Linked DNA regions of Homo sapiens: regions 2, 3 and 4 are each linked to region 1. Evidence: promoter capture Hi-C in 16 types of primary human blood cells and fetal thymus (Javierre and others, 2016). All regions are on one chromosome and are shown on one strand. Each heading gives the region's core, a stretch centred on a gene start or on the middle of the fragment in contact. The rest is flanking DNA. Distances are from core to core; before and after follow the strand shown.

Region 1 (6,887 bases), core at 2,820-5,319:
CCCCTACCCATTAGATGCCAGTAGCACAGAGCTCCAACACAGAGATGTGACCACCTAAAATATCTCCAGACACTGCCAAATATTCACTAGGGAACAAAATCAGCTTGCTTGAGAACGATTGCGTTAGGCCAAAGACCTCACAAAATCAAATCCTCTGTGCCTTTGCCAATTCAAATTGCTCCTTTAACTCCATGGTCAACTCTACCCACTTAGCCACCCACCAACATAAAATACAGACACAAACACCCTCACATTCTTCATATGAAATACCTTGAACATTGTCTAGTGTTCTTCCTCTGAGCCATATGTGGCCAATTTGGCTAAGAGGAGAGAAGTAACCACTGATGCCTATTTCCTACCCTCCACTGACATGGGAGTTCATGCTTATCCTTTTAAATGTATTTAAGTTCATAATGTGCTGACTTTCTTTCTTTGTTTCTTTTTGGAGATGGAGTCTCGCTCTGTTGCCCAGGCTGGAGTGCAGTGGCATAATCATACATGACTGAAGCTTCAAACTCCTGGCTTCAAGCAATCCTCCTGCCTCAGCCTCCTGAGTAGCTGGGATTACAGATGTGAGCCACCGTGTTGGCATGTCTTGACTTCTGAAGCTCTAAAATGCCTCCAGCTTCTTTATCCACTAGCCACGCTCTGTAAATCCATGCTCCTCCATAAATTTTGTTTGACCATAATATTATTTAATTAACTATGTCTATTCTGCCTTGAAATTGTTTTCTTCATTTGGCACTTAAATATACAGTTATGACCCAAGCTCAAGACAGCTATTTCCTGAAGTTATTCTAGATTAGATCCTATTAATTAAAACTGGGAGTAGGGATTTTTAGAATCAAACCCCAAAATCCTTTTTTCCTAAAACATTCCAAAACAATGAGACACGTTAGCTTATATAAATTTTATTTTCGTGCCTCTTAATACCTTTGAGGGATGTTTATTCTCCCCACTACCAGCCGTCTGGTGTTTGAAGCAGTGAGGAAAATGGTCAGAGCTAATTGATTTCCTATATGGAGAAAACATTATTAATGAATTCTTCACTGTGGAAAATTCTGAAAAGTGGATCTGCCATTACTAGATTCATAGCCTTGAGCAAGCATGTTAATCTCTCCTAGGCTATTTCATCTTTGGTAAAATGAGGATGCTGACATCTACCCTCTAGGGCTATTATATTGAATGAAATGACCTGTTTCAAGCTTTTAGCCCTGTGCTTGATATACAGGTGTTTTATGAGTGTCCTTTTTAGTGCTGCTTCTCTTCTTTATTTCCAGCACTTGCTAAATACTTTCTGGGGTCCAGGGCAAAATGAAAATATGGGGCTTCCTTGTTAAAAAATTAAGAATTTCAAGACAAGAGCAGAATATGAAATCAAGTGTTGAGCCCTATGTGACTGCCTACGTCACATACTCATCAAGCCAGCCCTGCTTGCTCCCCTAGGATTTCCAAGGGTCTACTTTTCTATCCTTTCACGAAATTAAAAGCCACTCTTCAAATTAAACAACGGATGGGGAAATAAATGCAACTAACTAAAGAGGGCTTGATTACGTGCATTGTTTTTTAACACTGTCTCACTTAAGCAACATGTTGAATGTTAGTGAGCCTAGGGCTCTTCTAGAGAGACCGTTTTCATCTGCCATAGTATTTTAGTGTTTATATCATTTTCTATCTGGAAGAATGAAAAGAAAAACAAACTTTGGTTGTCTATTAGTAATCAGACCACTGAATGTTGTCCAAGAAGCACTTAGTGGACAAAGAGACACTCAATTCAAAAGCTCTCTATGTAGGCTGGGTCGCGGTGGCTCATGCCTGTAGTCCTAACACTTTGGGAGGCCAAGGCGGGCGGATCACTTGAGGTCAGGAGTTGGAAACCAGCCTGGCCAACATGGTGAAACCCTGTCTCTACTGAAAATACAAAAATTAGCTGGGTATGGTGGCACACGCCTGTAATCACAGCTACTCAGGTGGCTGAGGCAGGAGAATTGTTTGAACCCAGGAGGCAGAGGTTGCAGTGAGCCCAGATCGCACCACTGCACTCCAACCTGGGAGACAGACTGAGACTCTGTCTCAAAATAAATAAATAAATAACTAAATAAAATGAAAAACCACCAAACAACTATCTAGACTTATCAAACAGCTTTCACAAAGATAGCAGCCTAGCTCTCTGAACAGGTAATTTATAACCTAGATAGCAGACTTTGAAAGAACTGGTCCAGACATCTAAGAATTAAATATGCAAAGAGGAAGATTTTGTTTCCAAACCACTGAGACCCAGCTCTGCTTGTTATTCCCTTTTCTTCATGGATGCATCAACATATCCTTTAAAGCAGGGGTCCCCAGTCCCCAGGCCATGGACCAGAACCAGTCCCTGGCCTGTTAAGAACCATGCCGCATAGCAGGAGGTGAGTAGCGGGCCCGGGAGTGCAGCTTCATCTGTATTCACAGCCACTCTCCACTACTGGCATGACTGCCTGAGCACTGCTTCTTGTCAGATCAGCAGCGGCATTAGATTCTCACAGGAGCCTGAACGCTACTGTGAACTCGCATGCGAGGGATCTAGGTTGCATGCTTCTTATGAGAATCTAATGCCTGATGATCTATCACTATCTCCCATCACCCCAGATGGGACAGTCTAGTTGCAGGAAAACACGCTCAGGGCTCCCACTGATTCTACCTCATTATCTATTAAAATGTAATAATAATAGAAATAAAGTGCACAACAAATGTAACGCACTTGGATCATCCCAAAACCATCCCCCTCCCTTCTGTCTGTGGAAAAATTGTCTTCCATGAAACCAGCCCCTGGTGCCAAAAAGGTTGGGAATGGCTGCTTTAAAGGGTTTCTCAAGGTTCTAATATTTTATTTGATAAGAAGTAGAATCATATAAAAAACCAAACATATGTGTTAATTTGGGTATTTATACAGATATAGTGTATATACATACATACAGGCATGGAGGAATTTCCAAATTTCCTCTATTGTAAAACATACACATACACACACCAACACACACATGCACACATGGTATCCTAATAGAAGGCAAGGAGAATAGACATTTACTGAGCACTTCCTATGTGCCACATGTTTTATATACATTAGGATATTACAGTATATGGTAGCTTTTATCCATTCATTCAATCTCAATACTTTTTTTTTTTTTTAAGAGTAGAGCAACTGAGGCTCACAGCAGTTATGTAACCTGCCCAAAGTCACACAGCATGATGGAGGGTCTGGATTGGAGATTTTGTCTGACTACAACACTCATGTATCAAATCCTATTCAGTTTTGATGTTAAAAATTCTGTGGTTGAATTCGTCACAGTGTCTTTAAATAAAACAACAACAAACAAAACACAGCAAACCTTAACATAGTTGCTAATCATATGAGTTTACAAGGCCACCTGTGTCTTTACTATCAGTTACACTCCTTCCCACCCCATCACATTAATCACTCAGGTCTAGGGATTTGCAAGTTTGCTAACAGCCGAATGGAACAAAGACAAAACGCTAAAATTTGTGATGTGGGCCTAACTCCAAAGCCTTCAAGAAAAAAAAAAAAAGGCCAGGCGCAGTGGCTCATGCCTGTGATCTCAACACTTTGGGAGGCCTAGGAGGGTGGATCACCTGAGGACAGGAGTTCGAAACCAGCCTGACCAACATGGTGAAACCTCGTCTCTACTAAATACAAAAAAATTAGCTGGGCGTGATGGCGCATGCCTGTTAATCCCAGCTACTTGGGAGGCTGAGGCAGGAGAATCGCTTGAATCCGGGAGGCAGAGGTTGCAGTGAGCCGGTATTGCGTCACTGTTGCCCACTCCAGCCTGAGCAACAAGAACGAAACTCCGTCTCAAAAAAAAAAAAAATAGCCATTTGTGCTTTCAATCTCTCCGCTTCCGGCCTCCACCCGGCGGGAAAAAACTCCCGCACGTGGGCCTCCACGATTCCTTGGCATGCGTGTCACTCTGGGCAACAGGCTGGTCGGCCACGACTGCGCAGGCGAGAGGCACAGAGCGACTGGAGACTGTAGTCCCCCGGTTTCCCTGGAGACCAGGCGGAAGCGGCCGGAAGTAGCGCTGCGGTTGGCAGCGGCGGGATGGAGAAGCTGGGGGTGGAGCCGGAGGAGGAAGGCGGCGGCGACGACGACGAGGAAGACGCCGAGGCCTGGGCCATGGAACTGGCGGACGTGGGGGCGGCAGCCAGCTCGCAGGGTGCGCCGCAGCCAGAGGAGCCAGCGGCCTCCTTGGGTGTAAATGAGAAGGGTGGGGCAGGCGGACGCTCGGGGCGGCGGCCACTGGGGCGCGACCGTCCCCGCCCCACTCGGCTCCTCTAAGAGAGGGCTGCCTCCCTCTGCCTTGTGTTACGCGGCGGGTACCTCTAGAGGAATGGCTTCACCCAGCAGGAGTAGGGTGGGGCGCGTCCACACTACAAATACGTGTCGAGGGTTTATCTGCGCCGTCCTTTCCTCTGTGAGGGGCGAGGTGGGGCGGGAATCCCTCAGCCAGCCCGACGAAAACTGCAGAGGCTTCTGGGCCTTTTAACTTTGGAGAAGTTGAGGACCTTGTCGCTCATTTGGCAGAAGGTGGGACCCGGATCTCAGTCCTGGCAGGAAGGGATGGCTCAGAACCTAGGCGGAGTCAGGTCCGCTGTGGTCACGTCTCCGGTGACCCACTTCCAGCTCTGGTCTTTACCTTGTACCGCCCACCTCAGGGCCTGGATGTAAAGGCACCGGTTCTCATTTCCTGCTGGTTTTGTTTCATTCATTAATTTAGAGACAAGGTCTCCCTGCAGCCTCGAACCCCTGGGCTCAAGTGATCCTCCGCCCCAGCCTCTCCGTCCCGAGTAGCTGGGACAGCAGGCACGTGCCACCACACCTGGCTGATTTTCAGATTTTTTTAGATCAGGTGTAGCTGTGTTGTCCAGGCTGGTCTCAAACTCCAGCCACAAGCGATCCTTCCACCTCAGCTTCGAAAAGTATTGGGATTACAGTAGTTAGCCATCGTGCCTGGCCTTTTAAATTTTGGAACTTTAGGTTTACCTGAAAGTTGCAGAGCTAGATCCCCCTAGTGTTAACATAAACTCAGTACATTTGTCAAAACTAGGAAATTAACATTGGTATAATACTATTAATTGAACTACACGCTTTATTAATATTCTACCAGTTTTTCTGCTAACGTTCATTTTCTGTTCCAGGATCCCAACCAGAATATTGTATTGTATTTTGCCTGTCTTGTTTTTAGCCAGTGTTGAGAGAAGGAGTCGCCTCTGTCATTCCCTCCCCGACAAATAATGACCTAACAACTTTTTAAAATCAAAGAACTATTCAGTCTTTCAATTTAGTGAATATTTATTGGTGGTCTGTTATGTCCTAGACACTGTTTTAGGCACTGGCGATTTAGCATTAAACCAGATAATCCTGCTGCCATGGGAGCTAAAAATAGCCCACACTTGTACCCACTGGTTGTCTTTTGCCATTTTGTATTTCAGTTTTTGTTGGTTTGTTTGTTTTAAATGTAAGGGCATGCTGCTTAGAATAATTTTCAAGCTGTGTGAAAATCAACGTCATTTCAACTTTTCTGCCCCTTCTGGTTTACACTAAGAGCTACTATAAACTTCCAGGTGATAGTATTAGCTCTTTCATCATCCATTATTTATCACATTTTTTCCCTTCAAACTTATTACTATCCTGAGAAAAACGCAGTGCACAAACAGTAATTAAGAGGACTGAAGACCCTACCCTAAGTGGAGTTTCATGTCTTTGTAATTTTTCGATGCTTTCACACATAATCCAGGAGAAAACACGTCACTCTGCATTCTTCCTTCACAGGTACCATGTTTTAAGGAACTGTCAGTTGCTCAGAGATAATAAGCAGCCTGAATTTCTTTTTATTTCTTTGCATATTGTGCAGGAGTTCATGATCAAGTGTTGCCCACACCAAATGCTTCATCCAGAGTCATAGTACATGTGGATCTGGATTGCTTTTATGCACAAGTAGAAATGATCTCAAATCCAGAGCTAAAAGACAAACCTTTAGGTAACTGTAGATTTATAATATTTTTAATTGCATAATGATTAGATTAGCAACTCATCATGCTCATTATATACTGATTTATTAACCTTATTAAGAAAGATTTTGGAAGCAGTTCTTACAGTGCTTTATAGCTGGTCATTTTTGCTTCACTACCAAGTGTAAATTTTACAAGCCTCATTTAATAAGTGGTGAATCTGAGAATAGTGTAGTCGGCAGAACAAATGAAGAGAAAGCAGAATAAATGTTACTTTTCTGTGCTGGTTAGTAGCTTAGTTTGCTGGTCAGATTTCTTTTTCTCACTATTTGAAATTTTACAGGCTTTGTTCTCAAAAACAGCCTCTTATTACATTTTAGTGGAAGTGTTCGTCTGTCCTCCCCTTTCTGAAATTATCTCTTAAATTGTGTAACATCTAACTAACTAGTTGGATTTTGAACATAAACCTAAGTATTATTAAGACAGCAAACTTGCCGTAAAAACATAAGCATCTTTTTAAATAAAAGCCAAAATAAATTTTATATTGGATATTTGTTGATATGCTAGCTTGTTTTATCATTTTTATTATTCATATTTTAAATTGAGAAAGATAAAGAGATTTTCTTTCATGCATGCAGGAAAGATTCCTCTTTTAGTGTAAGCATAAAGAACATTTTTGGTTCACTTGCTGCTACCCTCTTGTGCCCACTTTGGCTTAATAAATCCCAATCCAGCCTAGCTGATTTACTGAAGAACAAAGGGATGACTAGTTTTTGCTACGCCAAGGTGAGTCTAGGATCTTAAAACTTTTCTAAGGGTGCCAAGGAGTTAGAATCAGGGGACCTAAGTTTTTTCTCCTGAAGGCATTTCTGAGTAGT
Region 2 (7,340 bases), core at 3,551-6,050, 91 kb before region 1:
AATCTATGCAATAAGGAAGGGAACCTTTCCTTAACTCCTCATTAAAATAATGCAAGGATTTTTCATCCCTGTTGTTTCTCATTGGGAGGAACAGAATCACTACTAAGGCTCTCCATGGTGGAGCAGTATTAGTAAGGAAGATTGGAAGACCAGGGAATGAGGAAACCAGTATCACGGGGAGGAAAGGACTGAAGCCTAGAAAAGGATCAGAATTTTGCTCTATTTAAAGCCCAGTGGAGAGCATGGATAGCTTTTAATTAAGATTTCCTAAAACTGTAATCTTCTTGTTATTTTTAGTCCATCTAGTTTCATGTTATGATGATGGTAAAGCCCTTAGAAAAACCTCAAAAGAGCTGTGAGCTTGTTTCAAGAATAGAAGGTGGGAGAGAATCAGGGAACACAGACTATATTTCTATGCTGCAATGAATCAAAAAAGGCAAAAACAACCTTAACCAGTAGCAACTGTCTGGAGCAGAATTTCTCAGTCTTGGCATTCTTGACATTTGGGGGTAGATGATTATCAGCTTGCTTGGTTTATACACCCACAAGATGTCAGTAGAAACACCCTAGTTGTGACAACCGAAAAATATCTCTGGATATACCAAATGTACCCAGGTAGGTGGGAAGTGAGGCAGTAAGAGGAAATGGAGGAAGCAAAATCATGTCTAGTTGAGAACCACTGGTCCAGAGAAAGAGAAAAAGGATAGGGAAATAGGAGGTTTATAAAGGCAGGTGCCCAGATCTCACAGCAGAAACAGAAAGAAGGGCCCCTGCCAGCATGCACCATCACTGCAAGCTCCTCTCTCAGTTCTCAGTAGTGTCTCTCCCAGCTCCTCATTCATGGGCCTTAGAAGAACCAATCTAAATGGCTTGGAGGTGGGTGCCTCTTTTTTTTTACTGCCAGACAACTAGGAGTGGTGGAGAATCCAGTCATTCTGGAAAGTAAGATAAAGCACAACTGGGAGAAACATTTCTTACCTCAGAAAGTTGATAGTCAATGTATTTGCTGCTAGAAATGTGGTTGTAATTATTTTTAACAATTCAGATATACTTTAGGTTAAATGGTATTTTATGGGTCGGTCTGGGACACTAGAGCCATTTATAATATCATTTCTATTGGAAGATGTAGAGTTCCAAATAAATGAAACATGAAATTTTATATCACAACCTATAAACTAGAAAGTGTCTGTACAGAGAGATTTTAGATTTTAGAAGGGGCTCTCTTATTTACCACAGGATCGGGGTTCCCACACATGTGTGAATCTGTCACTGACTACTGAGAAAGGCACGGCTCCATTTAGAATGACTTTAAGTGTTCAAATGTAGGTACAGCAGCAAAATAGAACAGACAGGTTTATTTGGAACATGTTAATTTCCATAAATTAGCAGGTAGCTATCAGTAGGTCTGGCTTATTCTTACATGAAAACTGGAGAAAATTCACCAAACTGAGCCACACAAAAACCTAAAACTTATTTTAGCTCTCATGTATTGTCTTAAAAAGCATCTTCCCTTTTGAAATTATAATCTCTATTAGAACAAAGTGAACTGACCAGAGGAACATGCTGAACTTCAATAATGAAACTAAGGGAAGTTCATCTAAAATTCCTACATATCCAAACTCCTGTTTTTTATTGTTTATTTTAGACACCATAGCTGAATATTAACCCCCAAGCCAAGAAGCCTACAGAGCAACTTCAGACTGACTAGAAAAGCCAGGCGTGAAGCCTGAAGGTCTAGAGCCTCTATGAACATCGTCCTTTCCACCTCAGATCTCCTCCTATTTTAGAGAAATAAGAATCCTGCTGCCCTCCTAAGGTTATCCCACCACCTGTGCTCCTGATCACATCTTCTACCTCCTCCTCATCTTGCCCCATCAATTTGCCCAACTTCTCTTCTCACATTTTCCATTTTTCCCCTCCTCCCCTGGGACTTCTTCTTTTAAGTGACAGATGCACTTGAACACTGACAACTTAAAACATGTCCTTATTCACACTGCTTCCCCCTCAAGCCATCTTTATCTTCCCCTCCCACTAGTAGAGAGAACTTGTGTCTTATTTCCTCACATTCTATTCATTCTTTTCCTTCTAACCCAGGCTCTGCCCCTCTTATTTATATGAACACTGACCTTGCCCAAGGTCACAGTCACCTAATTACCAAATCCAATTCCTAGCTCAAGCCTCCCCTGTCCTACTTCACTGATACATTCGCCTGCCGTCAGGGGACTGAAGACATTTTGTGATGGTTCTCTGTATGTTTCTGTATTCTTTACAACTATTCAGCAACAAATTAAAATGTCTAACATTAATTGTCAAAGATTTAGACTACAAGCATTTCTTTTCTTTTTTCTAATGAAAAAAATTTAAATGCGTAAGATATGTGATATACTTTTTAAAGTATATGAGGACAACAGTGTTAATGCCTTATAAAACAGAAGAAGCAAAAGTTACCTTAAAAATCTCACCATTTTTAGAGTTTTATCTGCAATCTACATCTGTCAAGAGCATGATGCTAGACACAAAATTCGCACTCAGATGTTTGTGGGATGAATATTTGGCTAAGTAGAGGGAGGACAGGGTGATAGAAAGCGCTGGTTTGGCAGCTAAATGCTTTAATCCTGGCTCAAACACTAAATAGATTTGCTTGGGCAAAGTACTTAAACTCTTTGCATATATTTTCACTAGTAAACTAGAAGTCTTAGTAACTGTCAGATCTATCTCAGGTTATCAAAACACTAATAAAATATGAGAAAGTTCTTTGAGAATACAAATCTTTTATCAAATTGCTCAGAATTTTTTTCTAATGTTAGGATTCCATCAATTGAATGAATATCTTACTTTCATAAGACAGTTACTAAATCTAATCACATAATAGAGACTCTTGTCACATAATTGTCGATTAAAGCAAAATCCAGAAAGTGTGTACTTTCTAGTCACTCTCAAAAGGCTAAATATACAAGACACTGGGTTAGGGCTACGTGGATGAATGGTGTTTCCTGCCAAGAAGAAATTCACTGTCCAGTTTCTAAACTGCTTTATTTCCAATCAGCCCCATATAGTATCTGAATTGTCTAGTTATGGTCAGCAAAAACAACTTAAATACCATGGCCTGCAAACATCAAAGATCAAGTATGAGCTACCCTCTTATTTTGTCAGGGTGGCCTAAGAAGAAAGAGCTAGATAATGACAAGAAAATTATTGCATAAACCAAGGAGAAGGTTACTTCGTGTGGCTGTGCAAACTACAATGTGATCTCTCGTTAAGGCAAAAGATAATTTGGGCTAAACAGGATAGATGAATAAACCAAAGGGCAAATTTTAGGGCTGATGAAGACAGAGGTGCAGTAAGCGTTTGCTGTAGTTGTTTGACTAAATTTTGCCATGAATACTCTCTAACTTACACACAGTGGGTATACAATACTTGTCAAGTGCCTGAAAAGGTACAATTATCCTAAGATGACCATGGAATAAGAGTATCATTCGTGGTGCCTAGATTTTTCATGTGCTCCTCCCACAGAAAAAGCTACAATCATTTTCTTATTGATACGCAAGTTCATATAGGAACTTAGATGTGCTCCTTCACTACTTTTCACATATTTGTCACATGTCAGTATACTTGGAATTATTTGCTCAGTGTTGATTTTCAGATTCAAAGTTTTATGAAGATGGGGGCATGTTCGACTTTTTTGTTTATATAGCACCTGTTAATCAGCAATATCTGCTGTGAAATGAATAAACTGATGATTTCAAAACCCACTCGACTGCAGGAACTTTGATCTCTAATAGATAAGGATCTATCATTAGTTCTTTATAAGAAGATGTGCGCTTAAGAAAAGCTTTCTTGAAACTAATCTCGGTAGTGTAAATTAATTCCTTTTTTTTTTTTCGAGACGGAGTCTCGCTCTGTCGCCCTGGCTGGAGTGCAGTGGCGCGATCTCGGCTCACTGCAAGCTCCGCCTCCCGCGTTCACGCCATTCTCCTGCCTCGGCCTCCGGAGTAGCTGGGACTACAGGCGCCCGCCACCACGCCCGGCTAATTTTTTGTAATTTTAGTAGGGACGGGGGTTTCACTGTGTTAGCCAGGATGATCTCAATCTCCTGACTCGTTATCCGCCCGCCTCAGCCTCCCAAGATGCTGGGATTACAGGCGTGAGCCACTAAATTAATTCCTATTCTTTCTGTAGGACACTAACAGGCACTATTTTTTTTTTCCTCTCTTTTTTTTTTTTTTTTTTTTTTGAGACAGAGTATCACTCTGTTGCCCAAGCAGGAGTCAGGGATGCAGTGGGTATGATCATAGCTCGCTGCAACCTGCAACTCCGGGGCTCAAGGAATCCTCCTGCCTCAGCCACCCGAGTAACTGGAACTACAGGCCCACACCACTGCGCCAGCTAGTTTCTTAAAAAATTTCCTGTAGAGATGGAGTCTCACTTTCTTGGCAGGCTGCTCTCAAACTCATGGCCTCAAGCAGTCCTCCCATCTCAGCCTCCCAAAGTGCTTGGATTACAGGCATAAGCCACCATGCCCAGCCGTTCTTCCTTTTTAATACCAATACATCGAGAAATAGAAGTACATATGCACTATTTAGAATATGACATTAATCAACCACTAGAATTAAAATCAGGTTATAAATCCTCAAAATTACCAGAAGTATAAATTTAAATGAAAAACCCAGACCACAGAACAAAAACAGAAATACCAAAAAATAATCACAAAATATTAAAAACAGTATATAAACACAGTGACAGAATTAGGACTAAACATATCTGTAAAACAATAAATGTAAGGGTAATCTCACCAATTATGAAAAAGACCTTCAGATCATATTTTAAAACAAATTTAAAAACTCAACTGTATGTTTATGCAAGAGACAGATTTAAAAATAAAGAGACTCAGAAAGCTGGAAATAAAAAGAAAGTGCAAAGAAATAGCAAACAAATACAGGCATAAAAAAAAACAAAGATCCCAATAGTACTATAAGATTACTTCAAGGCAACAGTGTCAAATAAGACAAGGCATAATCCATTATAAAGAAATAACTTCTATAAAAGAAATGTTTTCTTATAAAAAGAAATTTGATAGAATTGGATTTGAATTTCAATGAGGAAAAGCTCATATACAGACTGAGTTCAAAACTTGTTAGGAAAGGTCTCCCCAATACCTCATTCCACTTTTCATTTGGATACTACCAATATCAGAGAAAAGAATATCACAATAGATACTGTAAACATTAAAAATATTACTAGAAATATATAAACAATCTTTTGCCACTAACTTTGAAAATTATAAAATGCACAAATTCCTAGAAAATCACATGAAAAAAACTAGAAAGAAAAAATGAATATTCTTCCATGTATCTATTTTAAAAATTGAAGCCTGAGCAACATAGTGAGACCCCATCCCTACAAAAAGTAACAAAATTTTTAAAAACTAGCCAGGCGTGGTGGTGTGCACCTGTAGTCCCAGCTACTCTAGAGGCTGAGGTGTGAGGCTCACTTGAGCCCAGGAGGGCAAGGCTGCAGTGAGCTGTGATCACACCATTACACTCCAGCCTGAGCGATACAGCGAGACCTTGTCTCAAAAACAAAGAAAAAAAATGAATCTGTAAGTTAAAACTTTTCCATAAAAAAAATAGGCTGAGATGACCTCCCAATTAATTATTCCAAAAAGAAAATTTTGTTTTTTAAAAATGCCAATTTTATAGAAACTCTTCCAGAGACTATAAGAAGGATCACCTCCAAGCTCATTTTATAAAGCCAGAAAACCTTGATACTAAAGCTTGAGAAGCAAATTACAAGAAAAGAAAAGTACAAGTCAATTTCAATCATGAATATAAAGGCAAAACATCCTAAACCTAATAACAGCAACTCTAAACAGTGATAACAATGATAATACATTACAACCACATTGGGCTTACTCCAGGAATTCTAGATCTGTTTAACATTCAAAAACATCAAACAGTGAAATTAATCACATAAACCAATCAATATGATACACTTTATTAACAGAATAAATAAACATTATTTGATCACTTAACTAGGTAGAGGAAAATAATTGATAGAATTTAATATCCATTCATAAGAAATATTCTTAGTAAAACAGAAAGAGAAGCAAATTTCCTTAATCTGACAAAGAATATTTACAAAAAAGCCTAGAGCAAGTATCACATTTAATGGAGAAACATTAAAAATGTTCCCTGACATCACGAATGAGACTAGAATATCTGTTACCATCAATTCTATTCAACATTGTATTGGAAGTTCTAACTAATAAAATAGAAAAAGGACAAAAAAATCAAAGGTTTAAATATTGTTAAGAAAGAAAGAAGGAAAGAAAGAAAAACTCTCATTGACAGATGACATGTTTATTCACATGTAAAGTCCAAAAGAATCATAGGTGACTTAATAATTTAGAAGGATAACTGAAATCAGAGTCAATACACAAAATCAATTCATTTCTAATATTAGCAAAAGATAATTAGAAAATAAAAATTTTATAAATGACACCATTTACAGTAACCTCAAATATCTAAGAATCAATTAAAGATATATAAGATCACTAGACTGAAAACTATAAAAGCTTACTGGAGGAATACCTAAGATTCGTGGACTGTAACACTTAATATTATAAAAATATTAATTCTCCCCACAGATTTACATCCTAGCAGCATAAAGAAAATATTTTTGATGAGCATGTGGCAGAAATTTTAAAATCAGAAAAGGTTAACTATAATTATATTAGAAAACCTAACATAGAGTTATTAAGATTAAAAACAACAAAGAATTATGACAGAAAGGAGTGGCAGGGCATTACTTACCCTACCCAGAAAAATTTCCATTCATAATAACGTAAACCCTGACTATTTAACCTATTTACCTAAAATTGTGATACATCTAGGTTGGGAGCATGACGGCAGAGAGAGAGAACTATGTAGTCACCTATCCTTGGGGAAAGTAAAGAAATAATGGCTAAAATTAACAAAGACAGCCTAACAAGTATATTAATTAGAAATATGAAGATAATTATAAAGAGATATGATAAGAATTAAGAATAAATGTTTCTGGCAGAGACTAGAAGACTTAACTGGAGTAGTAAACTACTGTTTTGAGAAGTAGTTTTTAAAAACACTATTCGATTTTTTCATCTGTATTCCTATGTTACTTAGAGAAATAAAAAAAGTTCACAGATCCTCCCTCATGACAGTTGTCATGTTTTTAAAATGAACTAGAAAAATACACAATTATTGGTAACTATGAACCAACAGCCTATGTATTCCTTAATTTTTTCTTTTTCTTTTTTTTTTTTTTTTTTTTTTTGAGACAGGGTCTCATTCTGGAGTGCAGTG
Region 3 (7,030 bases), core at 2,084-4,583, 80 kb after region 1:
TATAAATAACTCTTCCAACTCAACGATAAAAAGAAATTCAATTTTTTAAAAAAGAGTTTGGATAAATATTTATCTAAAGAAGATATATGAATGGTCAATATGCACGTAAGAAGAAGCTTATGGTCACAAGTCATTAAGGACATGTAAATCAAATCCACAATGAGATACCACTACATACCCAACTAGGATAGCTATAATCAAGAAGACAGATATGAAAAATGTTGCTGAAGAGGTGGAGAAATTGGAACCTACATACACTGCTGTTAGGAATATAAAACGGTGCGGCCAGTCTCTAAAATGATCTAGTAGTTCTTCAAAATATTAAACATAGAATTGCCATATGATCCAGCAATTCCAGTCCTAGATCTATAGCCAAGAGAAATAAAAATATATGTCCACACAAAAATTTGTACACAAATTTCATAACAGCATTATTTATAATACCTAAAAGATAGAAACTAAGTATATATTAACTGACGAATAGATAAAATGTGGCATATCCGTACCATAGAACATTATTCTTCAATAAAAAGAAATGAGGTACTGACACAAGCTACAACATGGGTAAACCTCAAAAACATGATAAAAGAATTTGTGAAAGAAGCAAGTCACAAAAGACCACATAGCATGTGATCTCCTTTATGACATGTCCAGAATAGGCAAATATAAAAGGCAGAAACTGTCACCTAGTCGCCTGGGGCTGGGGTGAATCGGATAATGGGAAGTAAATGCTAGTAGGCACAAGTTTCTTTTTTGGGGAGGAGAATGTTCTAAATGAAATTATGGTGATCCTGGTACAACTCTGTATATATACTAACAATCACTGAGTTGTACACTTAAAGTAGGTGAAATTTAGGGTACATAAATTATCTCAATAAAATTGTTAAAAATGAATTAGTTCCACAAGTCCTTTTTTTCTGAATTAGAGAATGACATTAAATTTATTTCTCATCTAATCTATTGCATAAAAACAATTACAACAAAAATTCTTAATGTCTCTTGAGTAGGTAGAGAACCTATATTTTATCTAAGTAACTTGCTCTAAACTGCAAACCAAAATAAGATGATTCAATAACGTATTTTATAAACTAGTCTTTAGCAATTATTTTGTTATCATATCTTTTATTCTCAACTTGTATTTACTCATTATAAATATATTTCCTAATTTCCTGCTCTGCCCACACCCAGCATTAACTATAAACCAGCTGATGTTAATGGTTGTGGAGTTATTGATGGATACTGATGTTACCAATTTTTTATTTGTGAAAGAGAATTGTGTGAAATGACCTAATATAAACCCCAAATTCTATTTTAAAAATAGTACTACAATATTCATCACTGAATAACATAACTTTTCATTCCTTAAGTTTTTCATAAAATGGAATGGCAGCAGAGTTTGAACAACGCTTTCCAAATTATTATATTAATAATATCTGAATTATTTTTGTAGTTAAGAAAAATGTTAAGTTTAGGAAGATATTGAACCAGGTTTATGAAGATACTAAACTGGGGTGTTTTTCATTGTTCCTCCAAATATATCTACACATTATGTAGAACCAGGATGAATCCTGAGCTGTTAGAACTCTTTATTTTGGTCACAGCAACTTTATTAATTACATTTGTTACTTTAAAAAATGTTTAACCTGTGATATGGGTTGGTTCTGTATCCCCACCCAAATCTCATCTTGAATTGTAGCTCTCATAATTCCCAGGTGTTGTAGGAGAGACCTGGTGGAAGATAATTGAATCATGGAGGCGGTTTCCCCCATATTGTTCTCGTGGTAGTGAATAAGTCTCATGAGATCTGATGTTTTTTATAAGGGGTTTCCCTTTTCACTTGTCTCTCAATTCTCTCTTGTCTGCTGCCATGTAAGAATGACTTTCATCTTCTGCTATGATTGTGAGACCTCCCCAGCTACATGGAACTGAGTCCATTAAACCTCTTTCTTTTGTAAACTGCCCAGTCTCAGGTATGTCTTTATCAGCAGCGTGAAAATGAACTAATACAACCTGTTTAAACCTGAATGCTTTAATTTATAAAACTTACAAACTGTCTCACATGTCTGCCTCAGAAGGTAGAATAGAGGATTAAATGTAGTGGTGGTAATGATGGTGGTAATAAGTAGTAACGACAATGGAGGAGAAAGTAGTATCCTAAACAAGCATGAAATGCCTAAAGGCAGAAAAGGTACATTCTGCCAGAATCCATCTCTGGATAATCTGCCTTCATTATTCCACAGATACATCTTGACAGTTTTGATGAGGTCAGAGAGAATAATGATTAAGAAAGTACAGCCTTTGAGGTAAAGTCTTGGTGTCTAAGTTTTTGTCTCACTAACACTAGTTAGGTGACTTGGAGATAGTAACTTACATAGGCCCTTATTCATTTGTAAAATGGGGATAATAACAGTGCTTACATTGTGGGAAATATGAGAAATATATTTAGAAAATGAAAGAAAAGTATTTAGCATGGTGCCTGACATATAGTAGGACATTACTGTTCACTGCTTCTAACACTGAGAGAAATGTGTAGACCTATGTGCTGGTAGGTCTGTATTTCATCCCTTAAGAGCAGAAAGGAACGAAATTCCAACCAAAGAACTGCTTCTCTTCCAGGCAAATGCTTAAAGCTAACCACAAAAGGCCCTTTTTGAGTAGCAAATTATTAAGAAAAGGCATAAGTGTTGAAAAATTATCTTGAGTTTATTTTTTTGTACTGCAGTTATAAGATATATAACTTCCCATTTGGTAGCCAATATAATATAACTGAAGTCCATAAATTCATTCAATATTTATTAAGTGTCTTGGTGAGAGACACTGTTCTTGTGCTAGGGATACTGCAATGAATGCAGTGATTTATTTCTAGTCTGGTGCCTATTAAAGTTAGTATCCTCATCAAGTTTATATTCTAATATGAGAGACATATAATACGTAAGAAAACAAAGAAGATAAATTTCATATAGTGAAGTGCTATGAAGAAGATAATAGCAGAACAATGTAGTAAATAGAGGTTTAGTGTGTGTATTTGGGAACTTTGGCCACGTGGCTAGGAAGGTCATTCTGAAGAGGAGATAATGAAACTGACATCTTGAACATAAAAATGACATTAGCCTTGGAAACATTTGGGGGAATAGCTTGCCAGGCAAGAGGAGAGCAACTAAGAAGGCTCTGAGATGGGTTTAAGTTCAGTGCATTCAAACAACAGAAGTCCATTGTGGCTGTGACACAGGGACAATGAAGAGAAGTGGTCAGAAATGAGGTCAGAGAGGTAAGTGGGGCCCAGATAGTTACCTGCACATCACGATAAAATGTTTGGACTTATTTCAATAGGTTTTGGGGAAACAGGTGGTTTTTGGCTACATGGATAAATTCTGTGGTGGTAATTTCTTGAGATTTTGGTGCACCCATCACCTGAGCAGTGTACACTGTACCCAATGTGTAGTCTTTTATCCATCCTCCTCCTCCCACCCTTTCCCTGGAGTCCACAAAGTCCATTATATCATTCTTATGCCTTTGTGTTCTCATAGCTTAGCTTTCATTTATAGGTGAGAAAAGATGATGTTTGGTTTTCCATTCCTGAGTTACTTCACTTAGAATAATGGTCTCCAACTCCATTCAGGTTGCTGTGAATGCTATTATTTTGTTGCTTTTTATAACTGAGTAGTGTTCCATAGTTTATATATACCACATTTTCTTTATCCACTCATTGGTTCCATATAATTGCAATTGCAAATTGTGCTCCTATAAGCATGTGTGTGCATGTGTCTTTTTCATATAATGACTTCTTTTCCTCTGGATACATACCCAGTAGTGGGGTTGCTGGATCAAATTGCAGTTCTACTCTTAGTTCTTTAAGGAATCTCCATGCTGTTTTCCATAGTGGTTGTACTGATTTACCTTCCCACCAACAGTGTAAAAGTGTTCCCTTTTCACCACATCCATGCCAAAATGTATTATTTTTTGATTTTTAAATTATGGCCATTCTTGCAGGGGTAAGATGGTATCTCACTCTGGTTTTAATTTTCACTCCCTTGATAATTAGTGATGTTGAGCATTTTTTCATGTTTGTTGGCCATTTGTATATCTTCTTTTGAGAATTGTCTACGCATGTCCTTTGCCTACTTTTTGATGGGATTATTTGTTTTTTTCTTACTGATTTGCTTGAGTTCTTATAGATTCTGGGTATTAGTCCTTTGCTGCATGCATAGTTTGTGAATATTTTCTCCCATTCTGTGGGTTACCTGTTTCCTCTGCCGATTATTTCTTTTACGATGCAGAAGGCTTTTAGTTTAATTAGGTCCCAACTATTTATTTTTGGTTTTGTTGCATTTGCTTTTGAGTTCTTCGTCATGAACTCTTTGCCTAAGCCAATGTCTAGAAGAGTTTTCCCAATGTTATTTTCTAGAGTTTTTATGGTTTCAGGTCTTAGATTTAAGTCTTTGATCCATCTTGAGTACATTTTTGTAAAAGGTAAGAGATGAAGATCCAGTTTCATTCTTCTACATGTAGCTTGCCAATTATCCCAGCACCATTTGTTGAATAGGGTGTCCTTTCCCCACTTTATGTTTTTGTTTACTTTGTTGTGGATCAGTTGGCTGTGGGTATTTGGCTTTATTTCTGGGTTCTCTATTCTGTTCCATTGATCTACGTGCCTGTTTTTATACTAGTCCCATGGTGTTTGGTAACTAGAGCCTTGTAGAATAGTTTGAAGTTGGGTAATGTGGTGCCTCCAGATTTATTCTTTTTGCTTAGTTTTGCTTTGGCTATGTGGACTGTTTTTTGGTTCCATACGAATTTTAGGATTGTTTTTTCTAGTTCTGTGAAGAAGGATGATGGGAGTTTGATGGGAATTGCATTGAATCTGTAGATTGTTTTGGCAGTAGGGTCATTTTCACAATACTGATTCTACTCATCCATGAGCATGGGATGTGTTTCCATTTGTTTGTGTCAGTGATTTCTTTCAGCAGTGTTTTGCAGTTTCCCTTGTAGAGATCTCTCACCATCTTGCTTAGATATATTCTTAAGTATTTCTTTTTTTGCAGTGGTTGAAAAAGGGGTTGAATTCTTTATTTCATTCTCAGCTTGGTCACTGTTGCTGCATAGCAGTGCTACTGATTTGTGTACACTGACTTTATCCTGAAACTTTATTCACTTATCAGATCTAGGAACTTTTTGGATGAGTCATTAGGGTTTTATAGGTATACAATCATATCACTGATCAACAGTGACAGTCTGTCTTCCTCTTTACCCATCTGCATGATTGCTCTGGCTAGGACTTCCAGTACTATGTTGAATAGAAGTGGTGAAAATGGGCATCCTTTTCCCGTTCCAGTTTTTAGGAGGAATGCTTTCAACTTTTCCCTGTTCAGCATAATGTTGGCTGTGGGTTTGTTATAGATGGCTTTTACTTCTTTGAGGTAAGTTCCTTCTATGCCTATTTTGTTGAGGGTTTTAGTCAAAAAGAGATGCTGGATTTTGTCCAGTGCTTTTTCTGCATCTATTGAGATGATCAAAATTTTTGTTTTTAATTTTGGTTATGTGATCTATCACATTTATTGACTTGGGTATGTTAAACCATCCCCACATCCTGGGTATGAAATGCATTTGATCATGGTATATATTATCTTTTTGATATACTGTTGGATTAGGTTAGCTAGTATTTTGTTGAGGATTTTTGCATTTGTGTTAATCAGGGATATTGGTCCGTTTTTTTTTTTTTTTTTTTTTTAATGTCCTTTACTGGTTTTGTTATTAGGGTGATACTGGCCTCATAGAATGGAGGATTCCTTCTTTCTCTATCTTTTGGAATAGTTTCAGTAAGATCATACCAATTTTCTTTGAATGTCTGATAAAATTCAGCTGTGAATCCATCTCGTTCTGGACTTTTTTGTTGGCAATTTAAAAAATTATTGTTTCAATCTTGCTACTTGTTTTTGTTTTTTTTTTTCAGATTTTCTATTTCTTCCTGATTTAATCTAGGAGGGTTGTATTTTTTCCCAGAATTTATCGATCTCCTCTAGATTTTCTAGCTTGTGCATGTAAACGTGTTCACAGTAGCCCTGAATGATCTTTTTGTATTTCTGTGGTATTGGCTGTAATATCTCCCATTTCATTGCTAATTGAGTTTATTTGGATCTTCTCTCCTTTTCTTGGTTAATCTTACTAATGGTCTGCCATTTTTTTCTTTTCAAAGAACTAGCCTGTGGTCCCAGCTACTTGAGAATCTTGCCAACAACAATGTGAGTGAGTTTGGAGCATAGCCTCCTTCAGTTGAGTCTTCAGATGAGACCTAAGCCCTGTTGACACCTTGATTACAGCCTTGTGGATTCCTTGAGGCAGAGGCACCTAGCAAAGCTGTTCCTGGATTCCTAATCCAGAGAAGCCATAAGATAATAAATGTTTAAGTAGCTAAGTTATGGGATAATTTGTTGTGCACCAATAAATACCTAGTATACAGTGCATATAAATTTCACTCAAACTGTGAGTGCAAAAAGTACCAATTGTTTAGTTTTGCATGTAAGAGTAAAATATCTCTGATGAAAATTTCCAGTAAAGCTTTAGAACAGCTTAACAGAACCTATTCTTTGGCTCTAGGCATTTGTATAGCACTCTCTAAATAAATACTCAATAATTACTTGTAGACTAAATAAATAACTTCCAAGCTTTTAAAAAATGCCAAGGTTGCTGTCTACACTGGTCTGATCTGTAAGATACCAAAAAGCCAAATTATCCAAAAGTTAATTCCCCTAGTGTACCTAGGCTTGACCATACCCACTCCTCCCTGTTTATTTTTGAAAGTGCCTGTATTAGAACCATTATTTCAATAAGGTAGGGATTATTTTCCTGATCATTGTTAAAGTGAGTGGGAGAAAGCATATCAGCTTTGTCCAATGGTAAAAAATTGGGCTGAAATATAATATAGGTAAATTTTATTGAAATTTTAAAAAAGCAAGAAACATAAAATGAGGTAGTTGAAAGAAGGAGTGGACTCCAAAAGAAAAGGAATTGAATAAAATTTGATGATCTGATG
Region 4 (7,376 bases), core at 3,556-6,055, 110 kb before region 1:
AAACATTTTTGTTCAATTTCTAGGAATTTTCTCTTGGGGAAAGTCGGTCGAAAGTTACCTGTTAAAAAAAAAAAAAAAAGAACAAACTTAAGTAATCCAGTGATTTATCAGGTGAGAGGTCAGCAATACTCAAAAAAGAATTAGAGATTGAATTCCACTTAAGAACCATGCTTTTACAGCCTTGATGAACATGTAGTTACAGCACTTCATAAATAAAAAGTGCTCAACATATCCCCTCATTGTTTCGTTTTATTTTGATGATAACCTTTACTATCCTGTTAATTTTCCAAAGAAATCATATGTATTCTTCTATGTTTATGCAAATATTTTCTAACTACAATTAACTACATCAGCATAAAAAGAGAATTCAAAGGGCATACAAATGAAAAAGCAGAACAGATACAGACCAATCCAAATATATTTTGAGAAAATGTAGAAAAATTTCTACTCAAGATACTTTATTTTACTTCACAATTTCTTTCACATGAGAGCATTTACAGATGACACGTATGCATCGAGTCTTCCTATTGTTTAACCTGGGTGAAATGGCACTGTGCAACTGCAAATTGAACTATTTATGTATTTGATATCCTATCTCATGTATAGCTAAATATATTCACACCTTTGTTTTTACAGTCATCATCTTCTTCTTCTTCTTAAATTTTACTTAAGTAAAATTTAAGTAACACAGTAAATTGCGGCCTGTTATTTAACTAACCAAATAAATAAATGAATAAACATCCACCTTACTAATAAGCAGGATTAGAAAGAGCTGAGGCATGATGAGGCTGGCCGACCTGAAGGGACCTTGGTTATCTCTTATGAGCCCGTGAAGATGGCCACATCTCACCCTTTGCCCAACTAAGTCCTACCTATACCACAGGTTATTACGGACAGCTGATTGAGTCATGTGGTCATGCTTTAGTTTATTAAAACTTTTAGGTATATATGGGGTTATTTGAGTAAGGTAAATGTAATTTTCATAATTAAGAAGTACATCTAAATCTTCCGCAATCTATAAGTCTAATGGCTTGATCTAATAATGCCATTCTCAAGTTGGGAAGATAACATAAATAATTTGAATCTCTCCCTACCTAACATGCCAAAATAATGGCTACTTTTAAAGAACTGATTAAAATTCTAATCATTCAACATTAGTTTGTTATTACTATTATCCACATTTGTGCAAGGCAATGAGAAGTTGCCAACTTCTGTGTAAGTATAGTGCCAGTGCCTACAACACAGCCTCGCTCACATAAACAAGGGTATAGCCTGGATGTCAATCTGCAAAGTAATCTGTAAAGGAAGCAAAAGTCGGCCAGTGGCTCATGCTGTAATCCCAGCACTTTGGGAGGCTGAGACGGGTGGATCACCTGAGGTCAGGAGTTCAAGAGTTCAAGACCAACCTGCCCAACATGGCGAAAACCGTCTCTAGAAAAAATACAAAAAATTAACTGGGCATGGTGTCAGGCACCTGTAATTCCAGCTACTTGGGAGACTGAGGCAGGAGAATCGCTTGAACCCGGGAGGCAGAGGTTGCAGTGAGCTGAGATTGCACCCCTGTACTCCAGCCTGGATGACAAGAGCGAAACTCCATCTCAAAAATAATAATAAAAAAAAAGGAAACAGAAGTCTAGTAAAACCTCAATTAGGTGACCCTTGATTATCTGAAATGATTTCATGAGAAAAGTCTAGAAAAAAACCAAAAAGCCCTGACAGAAGAGAAGGGCTTTCTGAGAGTCCATTCCGAAGCAACAGTGCAGAATCTGGATCAGGTGAGATCCAGATCCCTCTGTGCTCCAGAGACGGTGTGGCTGCAGCCGTGGACAGTAGAAACACACTTCAGACTTCCCTCTGAAAGACTTCCAGCATATTAAGTATACTCATCAAAGCCCATAAATACATCCTTGCCAGCTTGGAAAACAAAATCCAAGTATCAACACAGCATCTTCATGTCTTCAATAAGGGAAGAGAAAAGAGCTAAAACAGCACTGAACTGGATTGAAATGATTTTTTTTTTTTTTTGAGACAGAGTCTCACTCTATCACCCAGGCTGTAGTGCAGTGGCGCGATCTCGGCTCACTGCAACCTCCGCCTCCCAGGTTCAAGCGATTCTCCTGCCTCAGCCTCTCAAGTAGTTGGGATTACAGGTGCCCGCCACCATGCCCAGCTAATTTTTGTATTTTTAGTAGAGACAGGGTTTCGTCATGTTGGCCAGGCTGGTCTCAAACTCCTGACCTCAGGACATCCATCCACCTCAGCCTCCCAAAGTGCTGGGATTATAGGCGTGAGCCACCACACCCAGCCTGAAATGATTCTGTATGGTCAGGAAACTGTGACCCAGAAGTGAGTGCTGCCATGGATGGACATGTAAATGTAAGACATTATATGTATTATTGGATTTTGGTCTTGCTGTGGCATGAAAGATAAAGGCACTATGGAAGGGGATAATTGTGTTAACAATTCAACTCACCCTCCCTGCAATCCCTACCCTTAGCCTGTTCCCCTACCAAACAGAGTTCCCTCCCACCCAGCTCAAGTGATGGCTCAAGTGAAAACCCTGAGGCATCCTCGCCACTCTCTCACCCGCACTTCCAGGCAGTCACCTGGTCACGTGATTCTTTCTCCAGCTATATCTCAGATCTACCCATCTCTTCTTCTCCCAACCTATTGGCATGTCAACATCCTCCTAAAGCCACCATCATCTCTTGCGAGACTACCGCAGCAACATCCCAACTGGTCTCCTTGCTTCCAAGCTTTCCCTACTCCAATCCTTGTATTCATGCAGCAGCCATAGGGCTCTTGTAAAGAAGCAAATCTGATCATGCTACTGACTCTTCAGTGATTCCTGCTAATTTTCATGATCAATCTCAAGTGGTCATCAATCTCCCTAACAACCCACAGGTCCTACGTGACTAGGTTCACCACCCACACATTCCCCCCACCCCTCCCCAGACATACTGCATTCCAACCACGTGGATAATTTCTTCATTCCTTAAAGAAACCAAGTTTCTCCTTGCTGTTCCTTCTAATGGGAACACTTTTACCCAAACCTCTCCTGGCTCACTCCTATATATCTTTCAGGCTCAACATAAATGTCACTTTCTCAGAGAGGCTCTGTTGACCCTTGACATCATATTAGCACCCCATCCCTCCCTCTGTTTTGGCTTCAAAGGAAACTAGTAAATAATTGGTTTTGGGGTGCCAAAAAGGAAGACATGGCCTGCTGAAACAAAGCAGGATGGAAGCCGGGAAGCAAGACGTCACAGAAAGCCTTAAGATCTGCACGTGCTCCTCTGAAGACAAGGTATGCCCATGGCACAGAGCCATGAGCCTGGAATGTGAGTTTGAGATAAGATCAAAATGTGCATTTTTGTTGCTGTTTTTTGAGTCAGAGTCTTACTCCATCCCAGGCTGGAGTGTAGTGGCACAATCTCGGCTCACTGCAACCTCTGCCTCCCGGGTTCAAGCAATTCTCATGTCTCAGCCTCCCGAGTAGCTAGAATTACAAAATTCCAGCTATTCTACCACGCCCAGCTAATTTTTATATTTTTAGTAGAGACAAGGTTTCACCATGTTGGCCAAGCTAGTCTCAAACTCCTGACCTCAAGTGATCCGCCTGCCTTGGCATGCCAAAGCGCTGAGATTACAGGCATGAGCCACCAAACCCAGCCTAAAAATGTGTATTTTTTAAGGTAAAGTATTTATTATACTTTTTAGTGTCCTTCTTGTTCTCCCTGCATCAAATCTGTGCTAGGGAGAATCTAAGAAAAAGAAAGAGATTTTGCCTGCTTTGCCACCATAATTTTAAAGAGGAAGCAATATGCCCTGGATGCTACTGTGATGGAGATGACAGTCACCTTCTTCTTCTGGGGCCGTTCCTCCCTACATGACAAAGTCCTTTTCTTCTGCTGCTGCTCTTCTCTAGTGACACCTTAGAGGCTTTCCACCTGGTCTTAATGAAGGAGACTAGATCCCTTGCAAGTGACTGCAGGGGTGTGAATGTCCTCCCAGTATGAGAACAAAAGAATGCAATAACTTATATGGTCCTTCAATCCAGAGAGAAGAAACAAACAACAGCACATGCAGAACCCGAGCAGAGGAGTAGCTTTTTCATTCACTGCTGAGGAAGCTACAGGGAAAATAACAAGAAAATACAGCGACACCTTTTTTTTTTTTTCTGAGATGGGGTTTCACTCTGTCACCCAGGTTGGAGAACAGTAGCACAATTTTGGCTCACTGAAATTTCTGCCTCCCAGGCTCGAGTGATCCTCCCACCTCAGCCTCCTGAGTAGCTGGAACCACACACACACAACACCACACCCAGTTAATTTTTTGTATTTTGGGTAGAGATGGGGTTTTGCCATGTTGCTCAAGCTGGTCTCGAACTACTGAGCTCAACTGATCGCCCGCCTCAGCCACCCAAGTGCTGGGATTACAGGCAGAAGCACTATGTCCGGCCAAGAAAACACACCTTAAGTTCCAAGTCACTCTCTCTGGTGTCAGTTTACCTGATCATATTCTTAGGCTTCATCTCCACTGTCCATTTCAATATCCATCTCTTCTGTATCAGCAGCTCGCGACAAGATGTCTGCCATCAGTGCTTCTTCCAATTTCTTGCGTACTTGCTGTACTCGCTCTTCCTGTTTCCTTTTTAAAAACAGAATAAAAAGGCACTGAGAATTTGGCAAGTAATGACAATATGAATCTGCTACAGAAGTTCATCCTTACTTCAAAATAATTAAATTCCTAAGAAGAATAGACTTCCTTTTCAGATTTTTGCAGAGGTTGCTTCTACACACAAATCAAACCTCACCAATGAGCCTTGCCAAAAAGAGGAATGTTCACAGAGGCAGTTATCCCTCATCACACATGAAATTCTAGAAAGAGCAGATTGACGTCAGTGACCTTTTCTTCAACTTTGAAAATGTCAACTGTGTCAAGATTTGGGTTTATTCCTATAAGGACAATTAGAAATAACTTAGAAGCAGGAATAAAAGATGGAGGGAACATAAATAACAAAGGAAAAGTGACTTGTTCATAGAAGCACTGAGAAAGATGGAGGAAGCAGAGGCGTGATAAGCTGGGGTTTGATTGACATTCTGCGGCTAGGTTAGTTAGGAGAGAGCTCTCTCCTGGATTCTGAGGTCTGCAGGCAACAGGTCAGCATGAAGGAGCCAAGACTACATGATCCTGCACACCGAGGACAGACACTGAAAAGCCTCTCTTCAAATAAGAAAGTGAGTTACTTAAGAACATGCCATGAGTTTCTCTGTGTCTCGGTGATTACAAAGGAACCTCAAAAGTGAGGGTTAATAACTCCAAGTCATTAAAAAGGCTCTGAACCATTAGAGCACAGGAAGAAAGGCTATCAGTATACACTTACCTTTAAAAAGTAAAAAAAAAAAAAAAAGAAAAGAAAGTAGATCCCCCAGATGGTAAGAGATAAATTCCTAATACGTGTCTAGCAAACAAAGCTCGGTAAATAGAAATTGACATCCAGAACCAAGTAGAGAAGCAAAGGTTGAAGAAAGACAAGAGAAGAGAGAAGACTGGTAGGAAAAGATTCCAGTGGGAACAAGAACAGAAGGCAATGGCAGAGGAGGGAGGGTCAGCAGAACAGAAAAGGGGGCAAAGCTCTTGAGACCAGAAGAAAGGAGATAAGGAAAGATGCAGACAGGGAGATGAAGATGCAACAAGGAATATACAAAGGGTTCTACTGAAAAAAAAAAAGTAATTTTCTCTACCAATAACCGAGGAAGACAGATTGCAGCAATTCCCAAAACTGGGACAGCAGAGAGGTAGAGGAGCAATGCTATAGAAGATTGCCCTAAGGGTCCCTGAGTATTCACTCCATAGGGGCTCAACCAGCTGCCAAGTTATATTCAGTCTACTCAAGATCACACCCCTTTGACCAAATAAGACTATGTCCAAGGTAGTCAAGGTAACATATATGTACTGCTTCCCACAAAAACTTTGGATATCTTTATTAAACTCCAAAACACCACAAAGAGTTAAAAGGTATAGACTTCCACTTATTAAATGAATTTTCAAAAAGAGGGAAGCTGTCACTGGGTCAGTCTTAGCTCTATAGCCTCTGTCATATTAAAAGAAACTGGAATTTGACAGATTTTCATGTCATGGGGCAGGGTCAAGCAGAACACATTTGTTTATTTCTTATACAGTTAGTCTCACCTCTGGGTCAGTGACTCAAAGTTTATGACAAATGACATATTGGTTTCACTGGCAGTCTCTCACTAATAAGAGTACAAGAATCTTCACAGCTGTCCTAGAGTAACCTCATTAGGAAGAAGGAGAAAATGGAGCAAATGGCACCATATGCAGTAATTTGGATGGAGAATTTTATCTTAAACTCTAACATTTGCCATTGATTTTCTTCTCTCTTGAGCATTACTTTCCACATTTGTGAGAGCTGAAATTTAATCATTTGCCCATTGCTGTAGGCAGAATTGTAAGATGGTCCCCAACAGTCCCTCTTCCCCAAAACCACCCTTACGTGCACTCTTTATATAATTCTCTCCTCTTAAGGGTGAGCAGAACTTGTGAATATGATGGGATATCTCTCCATGATTAGGTTACCAATCAACTGATTTTGAGTCAATCGAGAGAGATTATTGTAGTGGGCCTGACCTAATAGGACCCCTTAGTGGAGCTGGGATCTTCCTGACAGAAGCATAAAGGGGCACACGGAGGAGCCACGAGACAAGGAACTACAGGCAGCTTCCAGGAGCTAAGACAGCCACCATCCCATAGCCAAGAAGAGAACAGGGGCCTTAGCCCTAAAACACAAGGCATGAATTCTGCAACCACCATATGAGCTTGAAAGAGAACCCCAAGCTTCAGAAGGGAACACAGTCCGGTGACACTTTTAAGACCCAAACACAGAAGCCAGTCATACCAGGCCCAGACTTCTGACCCCACAGAACTTTAAGCTAATAAATGGGTATTGTTTTAAGCTGCAAAGTTTGTGAGAATTTGTTACAAAGTATTAAAAAACGAAAGTACTCATCAATGCAAACATTATAAAATACGCTAAAAATACTTGAGATATATCTTGTTGGGGTCTTCAGCTGGAGGTTTAATGTAGACAGACTATTGGATACCCAATTAGGTAAAGAGTAACAGTTCCATTTGCAGTAATTTATTTTGAACATGTACTAATTCAACAAGGAGTATTTTCTTCCTAATTTCCGTCATGACAATTAAATCAAATGAGCAATTTGTTAGACAAATTTACCCAAAAAGGAAATCATCCAGAATTGGCTTTGAGATAGTTTCCTCAACTATCAAAAGAACTGGTGTTGAAGCCACCAACATTCCTGTGATATAACTCAGAGAACCTCCGTCAACACATA

Evidence for each region. The method cuts DNA at HindIII sites, captures the fragments that hold promoters and counts their contacts. A CHiCAGO score of 5 or more calls a contact.
Region 2: a contact is called between a fragment that was not itself captured here and the fragment with the promoter of POLI in region 1, in 5 of 17 cell types (monocytes, activated CD4 T cells, neutrophils and 2 more). The highest score is 6.7, in monocytes.
Region 3: a fragment that was not itself captured here is called in contact with the fragment with the promoter of POLI in region 1 in 2 of 17 cell types (monocytes and neutrophils); the score reaches 7.1 in monocytes.
Region 4: a contact is called between a fragment that was not itself captured here and the fragment with the promoter of POLI in region 1, in 1 of 17 cell types (monocytes). The highest score is 6.3, in monocytes.

What each region holds. Positions count from the first base shown.
Region 1 is chr18:54,265,448-54,272,334 of GRCh38, forward strand. POLI (DNA polymerase iota) reads left to right here and starts at 4,070. Exons shown (of 10, transcript NM_007195.3): 1 at 4,070-4,214; 2 at 5,913-6,038. The coding sequence starts at 4,100. It overlaps LOC124904307 (a long non-coding RNA gene), which reads right to left and starts at 4,458. Exons shown (of 2, transcript XR_007066379.1): 1 at 4,379-4,458. RefSeq lists enhancers at 3,432-3,581, 3,842-3,971, 4,502-4,551 and a silencer at 4,182-4,431. The HindIII fragment of the contact is 5,901 bases long and covers 1,204-6,887 here.
Region 2 is chr18:54,173,616-54,180,955 of GRCh38, forward strand. All of the region lies in intron 3 of MBD2 (methyl-CpG binding domain protein 2), which reads right to left. Among named protein-coding and RNA genes, the nearest start is that of SNORA37, 45 kb to the right of the region's middle. The HindIII fragment of the contact is 1,941 bases long and covers 3,831-5,771 here.
Region 3 is chr18:54,346,194-54,353,223 of GRCh38, forward strand. The region is part of intron 4 of STARD6 (StAR related lipid transfer domain containing 6); the gene reads right to left. Among named protein-coding and RNA genes, the nearest start is that of STARD6, 8.1 kb to the right of the region's middle. The HindIII fragment of the contact is 6,439 bases long and covers 115-6,553 here.
Region 4 is chr18:54,155,254-54,162,629 of GRCh38, forward strand. It overlaps MBD2 (methyl-CpG binding domain protein 2), which reads right to left. Exons shown (of 7, transcript NM_003927.5): 6 at 4,512-4,650; 7 at 1-58. The coding sequence ends at 4,524. Among named protein-coding and RNA genes, the nearest start is that of SNORA37, 63 kb to the right of the region's middle. The HindIII fragment of the contact is 4,102 bases long and covers 2,755-6,856 here.